Regions from separate parts of the Homo sapiens genome. Here region 1 is linked to region 2. Evidence: promoter capture Hi-C in human tissues and cell types (Jung and others, 2019). All regions are on one chromosome and are shown on one strand. The core of a region is centred on a gene start or on the middle of the fragment in contact, and the rest is flanking DNA. Distances in the headings are between cores, read along the strand shown.

Region 1 (5,645 bases), core at 1,257-3,756, 1.6 Mb before region 2:
GGAGTAGCTGGGACTACAGATGTGCACCACGACCACATTCAGCTAATATTTTTTTCTTTTTTTGTAGAGATGAGGTCTCACTATGTTGTCCAGGCTGGTCTCCAACTCCTGGGCTCAAGTGATCCTCCTGCCTTGGCCTCCCAAAGTGCTGGGATTGTAGGCATGAGCCACTGTGCCTGGCCTGAGTGTGCATGGTGTTGTTTTTTCTTTTGAAGATTTCTCCTCTTCAATCCAGTCTCATTCAAGTTGGAGTGAGGCAGGGCTCCTGGTCTGGAGTCTCTCTTCTATCTGCTTTTACACCCTGCTGATTTCATCCTGTCTCAGAACTTTAAATATCATTATAGGCCAATGACTCCTACATTTCTATTTCCAGCTAAACATTTCCACCTCATCGTGTCTAAAACTGAACTCCTAATCCCGTGCCACTTTCCCCAATTCAACTCATGGCAACTCATCCTTCCTATAAAACAAAACAAAATAGTGGAGTGCTTTTTAATGTCCGTCTTTAGCACCCATATCTATTATGTCTGTTGGCTCTATCTTCCAAATACATCCAGAATCCAACCATATCTCACTACCTCTATTGTTAATACTCTGGGCTGAGCCACTATCATCTCTCTTCAACGTTATTCTGCTTTTCTCCCTCTTCCTGTTCTCTTTTCTTTTAGTTTCTTTTTTTTTGAGATGAAATGTCACTCTGTCACCCAGGCTGGAGTGCAGTGGTGTGATCTAGGCTCACTGGCACCCACCACCTCCTGGGCTCAAGCAATTCTCCTGCCTCAGCCTCCCGAGTAGCTAGGATTACAGGCTTCTGCCACCACGCCTAGCCAATTTTTGTATTTTTAGTAGAAACAGGAGTTCACCATGTTGGCCAAGCTGGTCTCAAACTCCTGACCTCAAATTATCCACTCACTTCAGCCTCCCAAAGTACTGGGATCACAGGCGTGAACCACTGTGCCCAGTCAATACCTGTTCTCTTTTTAATACGACAGCCAGGGTTATCCTTTTAAGCTTCAGATTCTATCACTGGGCTCAAACCTTGGAGGGCTCCCCATTTCGCTGAATGAAGACCCTAGGTGCTCAGGTTTCCCATCACCTCTCTAAACTCTTCTGCCTCTGTCTGTCCTTCACTCTGCTCCAGACACACTGGACTCCCTTGCTGGTTCTTTTTTTTTTTTTTTTTTTTTTAATTGGCAAAGAGGCCGGGCGCGGTAGCTCACGCCTGTAATCCCAGAACTTTGGGAGGCCAAGGTGGGCAGATCACGAGGTCAAGAGATGGAGACCATCCTGGCTAACACAGTGAAACCCCATCTCTACTAAAAATACAAAAACTTAGCCGGGCGTGGTGGCGGGCACCTGTAGTCCCAGCTACTCAGGAGGCTGAGGTAGGAGAATGGCGTGAACCCGGGAGGCGGAGCTTGCAGTGAGCCGAGATCGCGCCACTGCACTCCATCCAGCCTGGGCGACAGAGCAAGACGCCGTCTCAAAAAAAGAAAAAGAAAAAAAGAAATTGGCAAACAAGCTCTTGTCTCAACGCTATTGTACTGACTGTTCACTCTGCCTAGAACTTCATCCCATATATCCACAGGGCTCACTCCCCCATCTCCCTTCAACTCTACAAGAAGGCCTACTCTTTTTAAAATTGCAATGCACACTACCATTCTCTATACTCACCACCTCCCCTCCCACCTTACTCTGCTATTTTTTTCCATAGCATTACCTTATTATGTTTATTAATAGTATGTCCTCCATCTGACTGTAAACTCCACGAGGACAGGGATACTGTTAGGACAATACCTGGCATGCATGAATCAGTGACTGAGGTATTGTGAGGGAATAGTCCCTCCAAGTCGGAGGAAATGAAGTCAGATGGCAGTAATTCTCCAGGATGCCACAAGAGGGCATCACCAGCCCTGACATTGTTGGTCTAAGGCAGTTCTGCTTTCCCCACTTATTTTGAGCCTCAGCTTTCCTCTTTTTGTACCTACAAAGGAGAGAAAAGTTAACAAAATATATTTATGTTTTGTTGTTATGTTTTCTTTAAAGCTAAATGGATTTCCTATTTTATTTTTGCTGATTTTATTTATTTATTTATTTATTTATTTATTTTTGAGACGGAGTCTCGCTCTTTTGCCAGGCTGGAGTGCAGTGACGCAGTCTCGGCTCACTGCAACCTCCGCCTCCCGGGTTCAAGAGATTCTCCTGCCTCAGCCTCCCAAGTAGCTGGGATTACAGGCATGCGCTACCACGCCCGGCTAATTTTTGTATTTTTAGTAGAGATGGGGTTTCACCATGTTGGCCAGGCTGGTCTTGAACTCCTGACCTTGTGATCCACCCGCATCGGCCTCCCAAAGTGCTGGGATTACAGGCGTGAGCCACCACGCCTGGCCTTATTTTTTTATTTTATTTTATTTTATTTTATTTTATTTATTTTATTTTATTTTTGGGGACGGAGTCTCACTCTGTCTCCCAGGCTGGAGTGCAGTGGCGCAATCTCGGCTCACTGCAACCTCCGCCTCCTGGGTTCAAGCGATTCTCTGCCTCAGCCTCCCAAGTAGCTGGGATTACAGGCGCCTGCCGCCATGCCCACGCCCAGCTAATTTTTGTGTTTTTAGTAAAGACGGGATATCATCATGTTGGCCAGGCTAGTCTTGAACTCCTAACCTCAAGTGATCCACCCGCCTTGGCCTCCCAAAGTGCTGGGATTACAGGTGTGAGCCACCGCGTCCACCGCGTCAGGCTGAGAGATCAAGTCATTTTTAGTTTTTAGTCTTTTTTTTCTTTTTATTTTTGGTCATTGTTTGGTTTTAGTTTTTAGTCTTGAAATGTTTTCTTTTGTATAATGGTAAAAAAATAGTACCCCAGAACTTTTTCGGAAATTTTAATAATTGGGAAATCCAAAAATCTAGGAACCACTGGGCTAAAGTGATCATAATTTAAAAAAAAAAAAAACCCTTTAAAAACTAAACTGGCCAAGCGGGAAGCGGTGGCTCACGGGAGGTTGAGGTGGGTGGATCACTTGAGGCCAGGAGTTTAAGGCCGCAGTGAGCTATAATCGTGCCACTGCACTCCAGACTGAGTGACACAGTGAGACCGTTTCTAGAATAAATTAATTAAAAACAAAACAAAACAAAACCACAAAACAAAACCAAATTTTCGCACGGTGGCTCATGCTTGTAATCCCAGCACTTTGGGAGGCCAAGGCGGGCAGATCAGCCTGGCCAATGTGGGAAATCCCCATCTCTATTAAAATACAAAAACTAACAGGGAATGGTGTTGCCACCTGTAGCCCCAGCTACTTGAGAGACTGAAGCAGGAAAATCCCTTGAAGCCGGCAGGCAAAGATTGCTCACTACAGTCTAGTCTAAAACCCCACTTCCAAAAAAATAAAAAACGCACACTCACACCATTACAACAGCCCAAAATAAATGTTCAAACAAAATGTTGTCTCACACCTCGCAACAAACACACAACTTTCTATCTGATTTTTAAACACCGTTGATGAACCCCACCAACATAGGGCTTCAAAAAATTTGCTTGAAACTCAAAACGGTTTCTCTCCACGGAAATCTTTAGTAAAAGGCGAAAGATTTATACGATTTGAAGAGAAACCAGAGCATGTGTTGGAATGGTTGCACACAGTCCTCGGGGGACGGTCACTACTAGATTAGCAATGGTTACTATTAACCCAAAAGAGTGACTTCTGTTTTTGTCTCAGACGATTGTGTGAAAGGAGCTTCGTTATTATGGTAAAGGAAAAGAGGGGGAAAAAAGGGAGAATCTCCTTTTAAAGTAGGACGTGGTCTGTGTGCAGTGCATTGTGGGTATGTAAATGACGCTGAGTCACCACCCCCTCGGTTTCCAGAAATACCTTAAATAGTTCGTTACTTTTTCTAGGCGTTAGGCCACCACCAGGGGGCAGAGCGGAAGCCAGATTTACAGAACTGTAGATGCCTGGTCCAACTAGACAGTGACTTTATTTTATAATTGGCACTTAAAGTAAAAAAAAAAAAAATTAAAAGCTTTAAAATAATTGTATTCATAGGCCTGGCGCGGTGGCTCACGCCTGTAATCCCAGCACTTTGGGAGGCCGAGGCGGGCGGATCACGAGGTCAGGAGATCGAGACCATCCTGGCCAACATGGTGAAACCCCGTCTCTACTAAAAATACAAAAATTAGCTGGGCGTTGTGGCGTTCGCATGTAGTCACAGCTACTTGGGAGGCTGAGACAGGAGAATTGCTTGAACCCAGGAGGCGGAGGCTGCAATGAGCCGAGACTGCACCACTGCACTCCAGCCTGGGCAACAGGAGACTCCACCTCAAAAGAAAAGAAAAGAAAACCACATCATAGCAAATACTGAATTTTGTATCATCCCTCTGCCTTCCACAGTATGTAACAAAGACTCCAAAAAGAGTAGCTTGAACAAGCAAGAAGTTTATTTTCACCTTACCTGAAGGAAGCCCGGAGAAGAAATTCTGAGTTGTTACAGAGGTGTCAGGGCTTAGAACATGATACCCCAACATATGGCACCTTGGCATACTGAGTATTTTAAGCCATCAAAGAAACTGAGAAAACTATATAAGCAGGAAGTTATTTTTGACCTTTTCCTTCTCTTCTCCCATGAAGACCTTCGTGTGACCAGTGTCCTGCCTTATGCCCACAGGGAATGAATGTCACACAGAGGCCAAGAATAATCTGAACAAACAGGCTTTGCCAAGTACCCCCCCCACCCATCCAGTTTATTACCATTCGATCATACACTTTTTTTTTTTTTAAAGAGTCTCGCTCTGTCCCCCAGGCTGGAGTCCAGTGGCGCGATCTCTGCTCACTGCAAGCTCCGCCTCCCGGGTTCATGCCATTCTCCTGCCTCAGCCTCCTGAGTAGCTGGGACTCAGGCGCCTACCACCACGCCTGGCTAATTTTTTGTATTTTTAGTAGAGATGGGAGTTTCACTCTGTCAGCCAGGATGGTCTCAATCTCCTGACCTCGTGATCTGCCCGCCTTGGCCTCTCAGAGTGCTGGGATTACAGGCGTGAGCCACTGCGCCTGGCATTTTTTTTTTTTTTTTTTTTTGAGACAGTGTCTTGCTCTGTGTCCCAGGCTGGAGTGCAGTGGTGCAATCGAGGGCCACTGAAGTCTTGAACTCCTGGGATCAAGCAGTCCTCCTGCCTCAGCCTCCCAAGTAGCTAGGACTACAGAAGCATACTACCACAGCTGGCTAATTTTTAAATTTTTTGTAGAGATGACATCTTGCTATGCTGCCCAGGCTGGTCTTGAACTTCTGACCTCAAGCAATCCTCCTGCCTTGGCCTCCCAAAGTGCTGGGGTTACAGGCATGAGCCACTGCACCTGGCCAGAAAATTTTTGATCATTCCTTTATTAGCTATTAAAGCAAATGGAATGATAAAACATTTACTAAATATTCTAAAATTTACTAAAAATTTTACTAAAAATGTACTAAATTTTCTTGTGCCAGTTTTGACATTTTTGACTTTTTTTTTCTAGAAATGTAGAAACTTATTCACACAACAAGAAGTATGGAGACAGGTGGATCAGGAGGTCAGGAGATCAAGACCATCCTGGCTAACATGGTGAAACCCCATCTCTACTAAAAATATAAAAAATTACCTGGGCATGGTGGCAC
Region 2 (6,001 bases), core at 2,141-4,640:
CGCTTGAACCTGGGAGGCGGAGGTTGCAGTGAGCCGAGATCATGCCATTGCACTCCAGCCTGGGCAACAAGAAGGAAACTCCAACTCAAAAAAAGAAAAAATTAAAAAAAAAAAAGAAAATAGAAGTGAAGGGACATTTCCTAAATTCATTTTATGAGGCCAGCATTACCCTGATATCAGAATCAAACAAAGACTTTATAAGAAGAAAAAACTGCAGGCAAATACGACTCATTAACTCAGACCCAAGAATCCCAACAATCTGGGAGGCCGGAGCGGGCGGATCACGAGGTCAGGAGATCGAGACAATCCTGGCTAACACAGTGAAACCCCATCTCTACTAAAAATACAAAAAATTAGCCGGGCGCGGTGGCGGGCGCCTGTAGTCCCAGCTACTCGGGAGGCTGAGGCAGGAGAATGGCGTGAACCCGGGAGGCGGAGCTTGCAGTGAGCAGAAATAGCGCCACTGCACTCCGGCCTGGGTGAAAGAGCAAGGCTCCGTCTCAAAAAAAAAAAAAAACACACACACACACACAAAAAAGAATCCCAACAATATTTAAAAAGAATACTGTATCATCGGCTGGGCGCAGTGGCTCGTACCTGTAATCGCAGCACTTTGGGAGGCCAAGGTGGGTGGATCACCTGAGGTCAGGAGTTCAAGACCAGATTGGCCAACATGGCAAAACCCTGACTCTACTAAAAATATAAAAATTAGCTGGGCGTGGTGGCCTGCACCTGTAGTCTCAGCTACTCAGGAGGCTGAGGCAGAAGAATCGCTTGAACCTGGGAGGCGTGGGTTGCAGTGAGCCAAGATTGTGCCACTGCACTGCAGCCTGGGTGACAGAGCAAGACTCTGTCTAAAAGAAAAAAAATACTGTATTTGTATCATGAATTGATGTGTTTTTTACAAGAATGCAAAGTTGGTTCATATTGAAAAGTCAGTCAACATGATGCATCATAGTAATGGAATAAAGAAGTAAAACTGGCTGGGCGCAGGGGCTCACACCTAATCACAGCACTTTGGGAGGTGGGCGGATCACCTGAGATCAGGAGTTCGAGACCAGCCTGGCCAACACGGTGAAACCCCATCTCTACTAAAAATACAAAAATTAGCCAGGCGTGGTGGTGCATGCCTGTGATAACAGCTACTCAGGAGGCTGAGGCAGAATAATTGCTTGAACCTAGGAGGCGGAGGTTGCAGTGAGCCGAGATGGCACCACTGCACTCCAGCCTGGTGACAGAGCGAAACTCCGTCAAAAAGAAAAAAAAAAAAAAGGAGTAAAACTGTATGATCATCTTAACAGAAAAAAAAAAAAAACTTAAGGAAAATCAACAACTATCATGATTTTTTAAAATCTCAGCAAACTAGGAACAGAAGGGAACTTTCTAAACCTAAGAAAGGACATCTATACACATGCAGGTACACGCACACACAAAACTACAGCTAACATCATATATAATGGTGAAGTACTAAATGCTTTCTTCTTAAGAATGGGAACAAGGCAAGGATGCCTACCATCACCACTTACATTCAACTGTGTACTGGAAGTCCTAGCCAGTGGAATAAAGCAAAGAAAAAAAAAAGGGATATAGATAGAAAAGAAAGAAGTTAAAGTGTCTTTATTTACAAAAGACATGACCATATGCATAGAAAACCTGAACAGATTTCCAAAAAGTTACCAAAAGTAATAATTGAGTTTAGGAAGGTCTCAGGATACAAGGTCAACAGAAAAAATCAATTATATTTTAATATACTAGAATTTTTCTTTTGAGACAGAGTCTCACTCTGTTGCCCAGCCTGGAGTGCAGTGGCATGATCTCAGCTCACTGCAACCTCTGCCTCCTGGTTTCAAGTTATTCTCCTGCCTCGGCCTCCCAAGTAGCTGGGATTACAGGCATGAGCCACCATGCCCAACTAATTTTTGTATTTTTAGTAGAGACTGGGTTTCACCACGTTGGCCTGGCTGGTCTCCAACTCCTGACCTCAGGTGATCCACCCACCTCGGCCTCCCAAGTGCTAGGATTACAGGAATGAGCCACAGTGCCGGCCAGCCTTTTTCTTGAAAAATGAACAAAGTGAGCCTGTCACTTCAAGGAAAATAACTGACAGTATTTGTTGCCAATAAGAAAATTCCAAAATTCCACATTCAAATGCCAAATAAGAAAAAGCTTTCGGCTGGGGGCAGCGTGAGCCACCGCGCCCGGCCAAGTTTTGTATTATTTTTCTTAACTATGTCTTCTCAAATTGCGGAAGCGTTAGGCCCCACAACATTTGACATCACCAGTAGGGATCCAGTGGAGAGGAGGGACATGATCAGAAACTGTGTTTTTAAATGATCATTCAACAGCCAATTATCAGGGTGGGTAGGAGTGAGGCAGGGAGATCAAAAGGCAGGGAGATTGGCTGGGATTACAGGCATTGTTACCAGAAAGGGGTCCCGATCCGGACCCCAAGAGAGGTTCATGGATCTCGCACAAGAAAGAATTCAGGGCGAGTCCGCAATGCAAAGTGAGAGCAAGTTTATTAAAGTACAAGAATAAAAGAATGGATAGTCCATAGATAGAGCAGCTCCAAGGGCTGCTTGCCCATTTTTATGGTTATTTCTTGATGGTACGCTAAACAAGGGGTGGGTTATTCACGCCTCCACTTTTTTTTTTTTTTTTTTTTTTTTTGAGACGGAGTCTCGCTTTGTCGCCCAGGCTGGAGTGCAGTGGCGCGATCTGGGCTCACTGCAAGCTCCGCCTCCCGGGTTCACGCCATCCCTCAGCTTCCCGAGTAGCTGGGACTGCAGGCGCCAGCAACCTCGCCCGGCTAATTTTTTGTATTTTTGGTAGAGACGGGGTTTCACCGTGTTAGCCAGGAGGGTCTCGATCTCCTGACCTCGTGATCTGCTCGCCTCGGCCTCCCAAAGTGCTGGGATTACAGGCGTGAGCCACCACGCCCGGCCAGGTCCCGAAACTTAAGCTTCATTTGTTTCACTGCAAATCTGCTTCTGCCTACAAGCCTGGTCTCATTTTCCTCTACCTAAGGATCTTCCTCCATGCAATTTCGGCCTAGGAGGCCCTTCCCGCCCCTTTTCGCCTAGCTAACTCTTTCGGTACTCAACCACCAACTCCTAATCCTCCCTGGTCCCCCAAGTGGGCTAGGGGCTTCTTGGGAGTCCCTCGCACTGCTCTAAGCATCCAGGCAGAGTCATTATTCCGGGTGCCAGGTTGCTCTTTTTCCAGCAGCCTTCAGGGGACTCCTGGCTGGGCGGAGTCTGTAGAGGCGCGCGGAGTCCTGGGAGAGCGTCAGATGTATTTCCTTTCCCTTTTTTCGCTCGTGTCCCGCCGGGTGGCGCTCACCACCTCCCCGGAACACGCGAGTCTCCTGTCGCGGTTCCGGTCGGAATTACCCCGTGGAGCACGCCGATATGGCTGCGCTGACACTGAGGGGTGTCCGGGAGCTGCTGAAGCGTGTGGACCTCGCGACGGTCCCGCGGAGACATCGATATAAGAAGAAATGGGTAAGGTCCGGCTGGGGGCGCAGGAGGGAAAAGTGAGGGTGGAAACTTCTCCAGTCTTTCCGTTTCCCGGCCCTCTAGAACGCCTAGCGTCTTTCCCAAGCACTCCACGGAACGTCCTTAGGCACCTCCCTCTCTCGTCTTTTCCGTCACCGCCTCTGTCCGCACTCTATGTCCCGAGCGTTAGTGTCTTCCACTTGTTACGTCTGCAGTCTCCTGACTCCGCCCAAGTTGCGTCATCACCTTCGCCTTCATTCTTTTAGTGATGTCACTGTCTCTTGTTCCCCAGCTGTGTCCACCTACCTTTCTGTCCCCCACTCCCCCTTTTACTTCCCTCCCTCCCCTCCCCCTTTCCCTTGCCCATTCTTCCCCCACATGACTTCTCCTTTCCTCATTGATTTTCCAGCCCGGTCGCCCTCACCCCTCGGAAAATACCATAGCGACCTTGCCTGCACTCCTGGGTCTCCGCCGCCTTGCAGGAAAGGATTCAGCCCCTTCCTCAACCTCGAGCTGCCTCTGGCGACCGGGCAAGGTTACAGCGACCACCCTGTCCATACTGCCGGCCCAAACCCTGGCAAAAGGTGCAACGAATCCTCTCATCCTCTGGACTCTCCTTGCTTCTCCAGAGACCCTTTTTCTTGCCTCACTGGAAGCCCTGGAATTTCTTCTATGACCGGCACGCCCCCCTGCCCACCCCAGCCGATTCCCTCGCCACCTCCACCATCTCTTCCACCCCCACAACCTTCCTCGCACTCAGGGAGATGGTCTTTTGAGTCCTCTTCCCCACTCCTGGAAAGGACCTACTGCCGCTAGCCCTGCCACTCGGGTTCCCCACTCTCCAGCCCTTATTTTGAGCAGTTCAGCATTCCGGGGTCACCCCCTCTCTGTCAGCGGACACCTTATTGCAGCTGGATGAGTCCCTCCAGAATGCGGCGTCCCTGTCTTCAAGGCACGTACTGTGACCAGCACACTAATCTCTGTTACTCTAGCGGATGGCCTTCAGCTTTTGGAACCAGCCCGGCAACCTCCTTTCCCCTTGCTCATCAGTCCCCGGGAACGAGCCCAGTGACCTCCCCTCAGCTCACTCATGTACCCTTGGAAACTGGACCCATGATTTCGCCTCCTCCTACACATAGGACCCCGGGAACTTGCCTCACGATTTCACCTCCTCTTGCTCGCCGGCCGGTGGAAACTAGTCCTATGGCCTCCCCAACCCTTTCTCACAGAGTTTTGGAAACTGGGCTGATGATCTCTCTGCCCTCTCACTGGTTCTCAGGGAGAAGTTATAATGACCCCCTTCTCTCCCCAGCATCTTCCCCACCTACTGGCAGCTTTTACCATGGCAGCCTTAAGCCTCTAGACTCTTGTGAACCCAAACCACAGCTTGACCTGCCCCTTGAGAAAAATTGTTGTGGCTTCCCACTCTCTTCTCAGGCAGGCATGCCTGGCTCTCCCAGCTCACCTCAGGAGGGCTCTTATCATTACTCCCATCTTTCCTCAGAGGCCTACATACCTACCCCTGGGAGTCCTTGCTATGCCATCTGCCTGTGCCCCGGGAGTACTGATTCTCCTTGCTCACCCCAGTCCCAGGCTCCCAGGAAGGCTTGCATTGAGTCCCTTCTCTCCTGGGAGGCAACTGGGAACTCTTACCTCATCCTAACCCCGGACACCACAACTTCTGGTCCCCCCTGTTCCCAGGAACCATCTCGTCCCCATGGTCCTCATTCTGTCCTTTCCTTCCCTTCACCCCTGGGCAACCAGTTTATATCTCCACCCCAGTCACTTCCCCGCAGAAGCTATAATGAACCCCCTCTTCCCACTCCAGTTTCCCCCCAACCGAAGTCCCCTAAGTCCCCAGAGTTAAGACAGTCACATACTCCCCACAAATGTCTCTCCCTAGTCAACACTCCCCAGCACACCCCTTCTGGCCAGCCCAAGCCCGCTAAGGCCCACACCTGTCCCCCACCTCCCTCCTGCCTCTCTGGTCCTTCTTGTATGCAGCCATACATCACAACTCCTTCAAATTCCAGCCCCAAAGAACTTCCCCCAGGGACTACCTTACTGACTGTGGTCCCTAGAGCTCTCAAAAGTGTTATCCCCACTTCTTTTCCCCTCTGCCTTCCTTGTGATCCTGTCTCGGCCAATAGTTATGCTCAGAGCAGCCGCCATGGACCCTCCATAGGGCCCCCCTGCAATACCCATATATGCTCTGTGGTTCCCTCCACCCCCCATCCCTGCCCACTGTCTGGCTCCCTCAATCATTCGACAGGCCCCCCTCCCATTGTGCCCCTGTGTGACACCTATAGCACTCCCAGGGGCCCACCCCAACCTCGTTGTCAGCCTGTGATGCCTCCTTGTTCTACCCACATCTATTCTTTTATCCCTTTGAGAACACCCTTTGATCCTCAAAGTTTACCCATTGTCCCCCGAGTCCGGGCCTACCCTGATACTGTCCCCTGTGGCCTCCATATCTACCCTGTGGCCTCTCAAGGCCCTTGCAA

Evidence for each region. The method cuts DNA at HindIII sites, captures the fragments that hold promoters and counts their contacts. A contact is called where the count stands out against the background at its distance.
Region 1: a fragment that was not itself captured here is called in contact with the fragment with the promoter of NSUN4 in region 2 in 1 of the 25 tissues and cell types used here (hippocampus).

What each region holds. Positions count from the first base shown.
Region 1 is chr1:44,727,551-44,733,195 of GRCh38, forward strand. RNU5D-1 (RNA, U5D small nuclear 1) reads right to left here and starts at 3,620; the gene lies at 3,519-3,620. RefSeq lists a silencer at 1,790-1,839. The HindIII fragment of the contact is 5,181 bases long and covers 1-5,097 here.
Region 2 is chr1:46,337,417-46,343,417 of GRCh38, forward strand. NSUN4 (NOP2/Sun RNA methyltransferase 4) reads left to right here and starts at 3,391. Exons shown (of 6, transcript NM_199044.4): 1 at 3,391-3,503. The coding sequence starts at 3,411. RefSeq lists enhancers at 1,792-2,591, 3,252-3,461, 4,589-4,678. The HindIII fragment of the contact is 4,996 bases long and covers 5-5,000 here.